3 separate regions of the Homo sapiens genome follow, and all the other regions are linked to region 2. Evidence: promoter capture Hi-C in human tissues and cell types (Jung and others, 2019). All regions are on one chromosome and are shown on one strand. The core of a region is centred on a gene start or on the middle of the fragment in contact, and the rest is flanking DNA. Distances in the headings are between cores, read along the strand shown. Region 1 overlaps SHC4 (SHC adaptor protein 4). Region 2 holds the start of SHC4 (SHC adaptor protein 4). Region 3 overlaps COPS2 (COP9 signalosome subunit 2).

The links. Contacts are between HindIII fragments. The study calls those that stand out against the background at their distance.
Region 1: a fragment that was not itself captured here is called in contact with the fragment with the promoter of SHC4 in region 2 in 1 of the 25 tissues and cell types used here (H1 embryonic stem cells).
Region 3: a contact is called between a fragment that was not itself captured here and the fragment with the promoter of SHC4 in region 2, in 1 of the 25 tissues and cell types used here (adrenal gland).

What each region holds. Positions count from the first base shown.
Region 1 is chr15:48,823,397-48,826,151 of GRCh38, forward strand. SHC4 (SHC adaptor protein 4) reads right to left here. Exons shown (of 12, transcript NM_203349.4): 12 at 345-2,730. The coding sequence ends at 2,575. Among named protein-coding and RNA genes, the nearest start is that of CEP152, 14 kb to the left of the region's middle. The HindIII fragment of the contact is 4,959 bases long and covers 1-2,755 here.
Region 2 is chr15:48,962,128-48,965,207 of GRCh38, forward strand. It overlaps SHC4 (SHC adaptor protein 4), which reads right to left and starts at 1,792. Exons shown (of 12, transcript NM_203349.4): 1 at 304-1,792. The coding sequence starts at 888. RefSeq lists enhancers at 266-768, 769-1,270. The HindIII fragment of the contact is 15,905 bases long and covers 1-3,080 here.
Region 3 is chr15:49,130,058-49,132,757 of GRCh38, forward strand. It overlaps COPS2 (COP9 signalosome subunit 2), which reads right to left. Exons shown (of 13, transcript NM_004236.4): 10 at 662-759. Among named protein-coding and RNA genes, the nearest start is that of COPS2, 24 kb to the right of the region's middle. The HindIII fragment of the contact is 6,490 bases long and covers 1-2,700 here.

The DNA.
Region 1 (2,755 bases), core at 140-2,639, 140 kb before region 2:
GGGGAGCAGAAAAACGTTGGGTTATGAATGCCCCTCACTGCCTCTTAGTTGAGTCAGCAGGGCTGATTGCATTCCTCCACTACAGGCCACAGCTCCTAAAAGGCAGCCCTTGCACACAGCTCCCTCTCCAGATTCTGTTAGCTGTTCTTTCCCTTTCTCCCTTAATTGGCCCCAAGGCACTGCATTCTCCCTCCTGATTTCCCTAAACTCTGCCCACACCTTTGTAAATAGTCCCTTTAATAAACTCACCTTGAATTATCCAGTTTGATTGAGCCAATGTGTTTCCCTGATACATTTTACAAATGACAGTTTCCAAATCCCAAACATCAGACATATTCTGTCAATTGTCACAAAGCAATAATCATTTATTTTTTAAAGTCGTTTACAGGTATTTATAGGCAAATGGATTTCCACTTTAAGACAGATAAAGAATGTGAGATTAAAATAGCATGCAGACATTCCTTTTATTGTTTCCTTTTGCTTTAACTGTGTCTGTGGTATTTTTAAGTGCTGTATTTAACTACTATACTATTACAGTCAAATACTGATTATCCATGTGTACTGCTGACACCATTTACAGTCATTGCATCTATTTGTATCAGGAACTCTTGCTACCAAGTTAATACTCTGCTCAGCTAGAGTGAGACCACAGCCCTGCTCTGTCTCTGATAAAAGTGGTTAGACTACCCATACATTTCTACTGTCTATACTCATGCTGATCCCCTTTTTAAGGACAAACGATCAAGACCTAAGGTATATGGAAAACTGGTGAAAAATACATTAATTCTAGTTGTGTAAGAGGAAACAAATCCATCTAAAAAATTAATGGCAGTAGAAATAAAAATCATAAGCCTTTACAGTAAAATATTAGAGTGCAGTATGCTTGGTTTCTAATGATTTCTATCCAAAAGAAGTTTTATTTAAAACTTAGCAAATATATCACAATCACAAAGACTAAGTTGTATCTACATAGCCAAAATGAAATGGAGTCAAGGCAATATCCAGATAACTCAAGATTAAAAAAAAAAACAAAAAACATTTTTCTTGGAAAGGCAAGAAAAGGACATAAGTAGTTTTCTGCTACTCAAACCAAATCCACTTTTATCATCATTCCCTATATTCCAAAGTTTCAGTATTTTAGACTGAATGGTTTGGAGTCTAAACTATGTGAATGTTGATCTCAGGTGTGCCATTCATTCTGTGAGTATGGACACAGACTATAGAAGAAAAGCTTAATTTTTTACCTTAACTATACAGACTGGTTATCAATAACGACCTCTAACAAATGAAAAACTTGCTTTTTAGAGACTCATACTATAAGTTAGGACTGAAGTAGTCCTCCAAATTCACCTAGCCCATTTAGCTCATTTTATTGCCAAGGAAACTGGAACCCAAACAGATTCAGCAACTTGCTGAAGGTCACACTGGTAAGACTCAGCGTAATGCTTTTCTGTACACCATGCTTAATCACTCTGTTAGTTTACCAGTTGGTCTACATGTGGAAAATCTTTCCAAGTGCTTCATTCAATATGTTTTTTTTTCCTTCTGCATTTTGTCTGATCATATCTATACGAGGTGCTAAGGATATATGTAGGTGAGAAACTATGATTCAGTGTCAGCCAATCAAGAAGAAATTTTACTATAATTTCAAATAGATTCTGTACTTTTACTAAGAATGAAACCAATTTGAATAGTAAATATGAAGAATACTGGTTTTGTTTGCCCTCTTTTAAATCCATGCACTCATGAGGTTTTTTTTGTTTTTTTTGTTTTTTGTTTTTTGTCTTTTTAGCAGGAAGAGGGGGAGAATATAATGAAATCAGAAATGACTGATAGATTTGGCTTCTTCAGCTTGTCACATGCTGTATTTAGACAGTCTGAATAGCAAACACTGAGAAATGCTAGGCCAGAGGATTTGGGCCCCAATCCTTTTAACCAGCAAATGGGACAGTCCAATGAAACAGACAGCCATGTTAGTGGCTTTTGATTTGATTCCACTGACATACACACAGTTCGAATTCAATGTCATATTTATTTTAACATTGCAGTGAAAAATGCTGCTAAACAGAAAATGTAATAAAGTCAATAAGGCTCAAGAAAATTGCTTATTTTTTGTAGCAAGAAAAGCTTTTTTTTTTGGCAAATGGTTCTATAGTCATAGAACATGAAGATACTTAGAATTAATCTCCCAATATGAAAATGTCCCCCAAATTATCAAGTTGAAAGGCACATACCACTGCCCCAGCAGTTCATTCAAGTTGTCGTTAGCATGTGAAATTTTAGTTGTGCTTTTAGCTTGTTATCAATGCAATATGGCCTTAAAAAGTGACATCCGTGCATACATATAATTTCTTTTAAAATGACCAACCCTCTTCCTCTTTTCTGATTTTCATTTCTGAAGACTAATTTTTGTTAGTTCTTCATTTTATAGAGGACCTGGTCCATGATGGTCTTGGAAAGATGCACTTCACAGTTTGTGCTCTATTTTATCTACAAACAAAGTTTAAATTATCTTTGTGTCCTAATACAAAATGGGGTTTCTTGAAATATCAGTGTGATGGTGCTTCAATACTGTCATTTGTTGGAATGCAAAAGTGCTGGATTATTATCTTTTCTCACTGGTTGTTTAAGGCTTACTTCGCTTCCAGAGGAGATGATTGGCAAACTGTTATCCATATGGTATCTGATAAGGTGGCCGACATTATCAAATACATGATCCTTGGTCCTCACCTTGAAAAAGAAGTACAAATATATT
Region 2 (3,080 bases), core at 542-3,041:
CAAAGTGGTGCCATCAGCTGCCTCTATCAGAACTTGCCTCTACACCTGCCAAGTACCCACAAGTTCATGTCCTACAAGTTAGCACCGGTTCATGTCCTTGAACCAAAGGCTGCCTGACTCCAGTACAAGTCAGATAGTTGTAGGGACATATATAAACCCAGCTCCCCTCCGCCTTGGTCCAGTTGAATCATGTCCTGTCCAAACACAGAACCCAGGCAGGTAACATTAGACCCCTTGCAGAAAGCAGAGAAGATGCCCCCTTCCACGGAAGTTCTTAGAGGGCAGAGAGGAAAATGGACTTACCCTCACACAGTAGTTCATGCCCATCCCCAACAGGTGCTGTAGAAAGTGCCTGTCCTGCCTGCTCCTAAGTGTTGGCTCCCCAGGGCCAGGAAGCGGGCACGAATCAGGGGTTAGGGCGGTTGCCCTGTGTCCCACCAGGTCCTGCTGCGGTGGAGGTGCAGTCCCGGACCTACTTAAACTGGTTTCTGGGGAAGAGGGGCCGCTGGAACCTGGGTCCCGGCTTTCCTGGAGCTTCAGCCGAGGCACCTCTTTGGTACCCAGGCAAAAGTTTTTCAGACTCAGCAAAGTGGCCGGGTTGGCCAGCTTCATGCTTGCCATGCGGGGGATCAAGGTGCACAGTGGGGTGGGGCTCTCCTGCGACGGCAAGGTGGCATCTTCAGTCGGCAGGTGAGGTGCCAGGGCGGGGTGGGGAGGCTGCGGCGAGCCCTTGTTCCCGACCGAGCCTCCGGAGCTACCTTCGTCCAAGGACGTGATCGACTCGTTCCGAAAGCGGCTGTACTTGGCCCTGTGCAGCATCCCGGGGTGCCCGAAGAGTCCTACATACAGCACGAGTCCTGCCAGGCTGTCCTGGCCGCGTTCTCGCATAGCCTTGGCAGTGCTGAAACAGGATACTGTTGCATAAATCGCCTCGTCGTCTGGTAGATAAACGGTGCAGACATCAGATACCTCAACGCCCGATGCAACTCACAGCAGCCACCTCTCCAACTCTGCTCTCGAGCTCGCCCACCTCGGCTCCCGGCCCCTTAAGGGTGACAGCCCATGGGGGAAACGCCTCCCCTGCTCTGATTTCAGTCTCTCCCTGGCCCAGGCAGAGGCACCAGTGTTCTCGCCTTGGAATCCTTGTCGGGAGAGCCTAGACCCAGGCTCCCGGCGGCGCGGGTCGCTCACGGCCAACTCTTAGGCGCAGAACCCGGGCGAGCGCCGGTCGGGGGGCCCGCTGCATCACTAGCCTTGCAGGAGCCTAGTAGAAATATTTAGCACCCGACTCCCACCCTCACCCCAGCCTTCTGTTCTGCACACAGGAACTTTCGAACCTGCTCCCTTCGGCTCTCACAGGGCGGGGCAAATGACTGGCCTATTAACCCTTTATTTGTTCCAGTGATTGTTCATTTAAAAAGGAAAAAAAAATGTATCTATGAACCAAAGGCCCTTTTGCCTGGGTTCGTTGATTCCAAAGGCTGCCCTCTCTTGGAAGATCTTGTCTTGCATCCCGTTCTGGGCCACCAGCCAGGAGTACTACTGACGGGCGCTGCTCCGCATTGTTTCACTGACTTGTGATGGGTCCGTGTTCCTCAGATCCCCTCCCAGCCTGCCTACCCTCGCTCAGAGCTTCCCTCCCTCCTGGATTCCTCTCGGAGCTTTTTTCAGAAGCCCATTTGCAGCCGAAAGCTGAGATGTGCAGGATGATACGCAGCGTGTTGAAATTTTTATGAATGAACTTTGCCGAATGAATTTCTCTGTGTGTGTGCAAGCTAATAAATCTGTGAATGAAGCTGAGAATAGCTGTAATTGACTGACGGTCTCAGAGGTGCTTGGTTTTTATCCAATCAGGAGGCAGCTTGATGACTCATACACCATAAATATACTAAACTAGTAGCCGAGAGAAATAAAGCTAGCGGGAGAGGAGGGACGTATTTTATTTTGTGGTATCTGATGAATGAGTTAAAAGGAAAGGCAATCTTTACTACAGATCATTAGCCGGGGAGCAGCAGGTTAAAAGATCTATTTTCTTTCTTGTTGAGATGGCCGGGAGGGCAGAGCAGAAGAGCTAAAAATTAGACCCATTGTTACAGGGATATTAGGACATATGGTTCACAACTCCTGTGGGAAGCCATGATGCATTTTTCTTAGAAACATAGTTCTTTTTTTATTGATTGTTGGTTCCATCTTCCGTCTGGTGCGACTTCCTGTACCTATCAAATGCATCCTGAAGACATGATGACAACTGCAAAGGCTTAGCACACAGGAAGCCAAAACCAGAGCTGGGAAAAGGAAATGCAGGTTCTTCAGGAATGGAGAAGAGGAAACTGCTGAAACACTGGGGGTGTGGGGTGTCGGGGTGGGGTGGAAATCACACATAGGAAGAGATAAAGAACTCTCAGAAAAGATTGCATTACTCCGTGTCTCAAGGCTTTGACATCTGAAATTGTTCATTAATTAAAAAATTAAGACAAACTGGCAACCAAAGGAATTAAGGGTGCCACCTTCATTATCTTATTGTCCCTAATGCTGGATTAGGCTTATGTATATTCATGACTTTGGGAGCCTGAGCTCCCTTGGGATCCAAACACAGGTTCTGAATTAAATGGTTGAGAGTGACCAGTGAAAGCGGCATCCTCCTCCCAAGCTCCCTGGTCCCCCAGGGAAATAAAGCACCCATCACATCCTGTCTGCCAAGCCTGTTCAGACATTTCTTTCCCTGGAAAGGCCTTTCTGCATCTTCATAAATCTTCCCTTCAATCCTTGTTGACCTCCTTTTCCCTGCCCTACATCTCCTCCTGGCAAAACTGAGGGAAGTAGCTAAATCAGTTGGACCCCACATCCCTGGGGCTGAGGAGACAGGCTCTGGGCAAGAATATTTACCTCTCATTCCTCCTCATTCCTCATCTGCTTTCTTCCTCTCATTTTTCCTGCCTTCCCCTGGGTCCCTGGGTCCCTGTGTTGCTTCTGTTATGCTATGATGACCTCATTATATGCTCCCTTTAGAAAGTTACTTTACCTCTCCGTGCCTGAATGTCCTCATATGTTGGCAGCAGCCATCTAATGGGGTTGTTATG
Region 3 (2,700 bases), core at 87-2,586, 170 kb after region 2:
CAGGTTCATGTAAGAACTTTTAAAATGTCTGTTGATTAAAAGAGAAAGAAAGATGGGGAACAGAACATTACTTCTGATGCATCTGAAATTTAGTTCCAAATGGTCATTTAAAAACCTTCAAATAGCTCCATAATAGGTGGGAAAATCGGAGCTATAAAAGAAGTCCAAGAGCAAAGAGATGATTGTAGTCTTTGGTAATTCAATATAACTTGCTAAAAACCTCATTCACTTACTGGTATGAAACCTTCACAGTGTTGCCTTATCTTTCATAGTACATATATCTTAGCATTATCTATAGCAGGATATTTTCATAACTTTTGTTATTTGTCAAAAATAAACCTTAAAAATTAACTTTGAACCTAAGCATCAATAATAAACATGCAACAGCATCTATATTAGATTTTTTTAAAAAGGGACAGTTACCTTAAACAAAATGGACATTATATATAAACTTGACTATAGTAATATGAAATTGGTCAATTTCTTTAAAAGAGCTTCATAATTTTAAGGAATATCCCATCCAATGACAGCATTTAGAAACATATCTATACTTTGCAATAGACAGAAAGAAAACAGCTTAATGCCATGCAGCTTCATTAAGTGGCATTTCTTTGACAGTGGCAAAGAAAGTAATAGAATCCAGTTGGCAGAAAGAACATACCTTCAATGTGTTCTCTTATGAAAGGATCATCCATGATGTTGCTGTGATTTGTTTTTAGAATCTTTTCAAATTCAGTGATGTCATTATTCTGATAGGCACTAATAGAAAAACAAAGTGTAAATTATGTCAAACATGAAGAAGTTATGTATTAAATCAGATAATCCAAAGACCCTGCTTCTCAACTTTCATATGCAAAAATCTAAATAATATTATACTTTCTGTCATGGAAATCACAGTTAAACAAGCACACATAACCTTCTGCCAAAAAAAACATAAATTTCCTTTTCATGCTTTTGGTTTTTTAAAAGAAAGATTAAATAAATCTTCTTTTGGGGTTATATACTATATTTATACAAAGTTAATTAAAATCACCTCAATATCTTACTTCTCTTAAAAGTTGGCAATAAAACATTTAACAACTATTTAATGTTTGATGTTTTCAAATGAAATTGTGCATTTAATTCCTAATTGTTCATAATGAAAGGAACCAGGCTTCATGTACACTACATGAAGGGGTGTAGCCTCGTCTTTCAAATGAGAAAGCATATCCTCTGTGTAGGTTATTCAGAAAATGCAGCTTCTTAATTTTTATATTCTAGAAAGCTACCAGCAACTGTGAAAATTTTCAAAAGGAACATTTCTCAATCCCCTGTTGCAGAAGGCCAAAGACTGATTTATATTCATAATTCTCTGAGGTATCTAGTATCTCCTCTTGAAATAATTCTGTAAAGCTCTATGGGAATTGCTAAAGGTGCTGAGAAGGAAGAATCCAACCTTGTGGATATGGCACCATTGTCTGCTTTATACGTAAGACATTATCATCAGCTATACTGCACGCCCTCTGCTAGTGCTTCCATCTGTTGGGTCCCAATGTAACCTCATATTAGGGGCACGTGATTCAAGTGCTTTGACAGGAATTATTTTCCTCTAGTCTCCTGGCAACTGACTAGGAAGACAAAATTAGGAAGCATTACTTTCTTACCTACCCCAAATACACTGCTGTAATATACTATAGGAGGACATATTCAAGCATTGAAAACACTTGCACAAACATTTGTTTTATATTTGTGTACATACATATTTTAACCGTAAGACATTCTTCCATTTCTTAAGTGGGGTTTCAAAAAAAACATCTTATACAAAATTGTGGGACACCATGCATCACATCATGTGGGTCAAAATTTACCATTAAAATAAGTTTTGAGTTCTAATACAGTGGCTTTGCTGGAGTAGTTGGATATAATAAATTTATAAATGTCATTATATATTCTGATATAGGTCAGATAAAGGTCTGACAAATCAGTCCTTTAACCAATTTTAATGTACTTAGCCAATTTAATTTATACAAAATATCAATGTCTAGGGTAAAGCTTTTCCTCAATATTTCTTAGAGTTTTAAAAGTGTAAACTGCTGCTTAGCAATTTAACATTATAAACAACTTTGGTTCTTAGTTAATGTGACCAAATGTGAATGAAATAAACTATCTGAAATAAAGATGACGTTTCCTTTAATAATGAAAAGCAACCTAATTCAACAAATAAATTAAAATAAAGTAAACAATAAAGAAACTGATTTAATGTGGTAACTTAAGGTTTTTAATTCCAAACTGTTCTTAGTCCCCCTAAAAAAAAACGCTTTTTTTTTTACAGCCAAAATTAAGGTTTCTTTAAAAAAAGTTAAATGAGGACATTTTACACAGGAACTTTAATATCATGAAATAAGCTATCTTCTCCAAGTATACACAATTTATATGTAGGTGACCCATAATGTACAGTCTAATAGTGTTTTCTGTTAAATGAAAAAGTACTATAAATAGAACTTCTGGTCACCTAAATTATTTACATATATCTGCAAAAAAAAAAAAAAAAAAAAAAGCCCTGCTTCATGTCCCTAACTACATTTTTCCAGCTGTGGTAAAACTCAGCTGTACAACTTAAAATAAAAGACTTGAAGAAATTTAGTAAATTTCTTATACTTTTTTAATGAATAAAACCCACAAAAACCCTGGGTTCCATTTATTCTATGCCTGGAGGAAAGT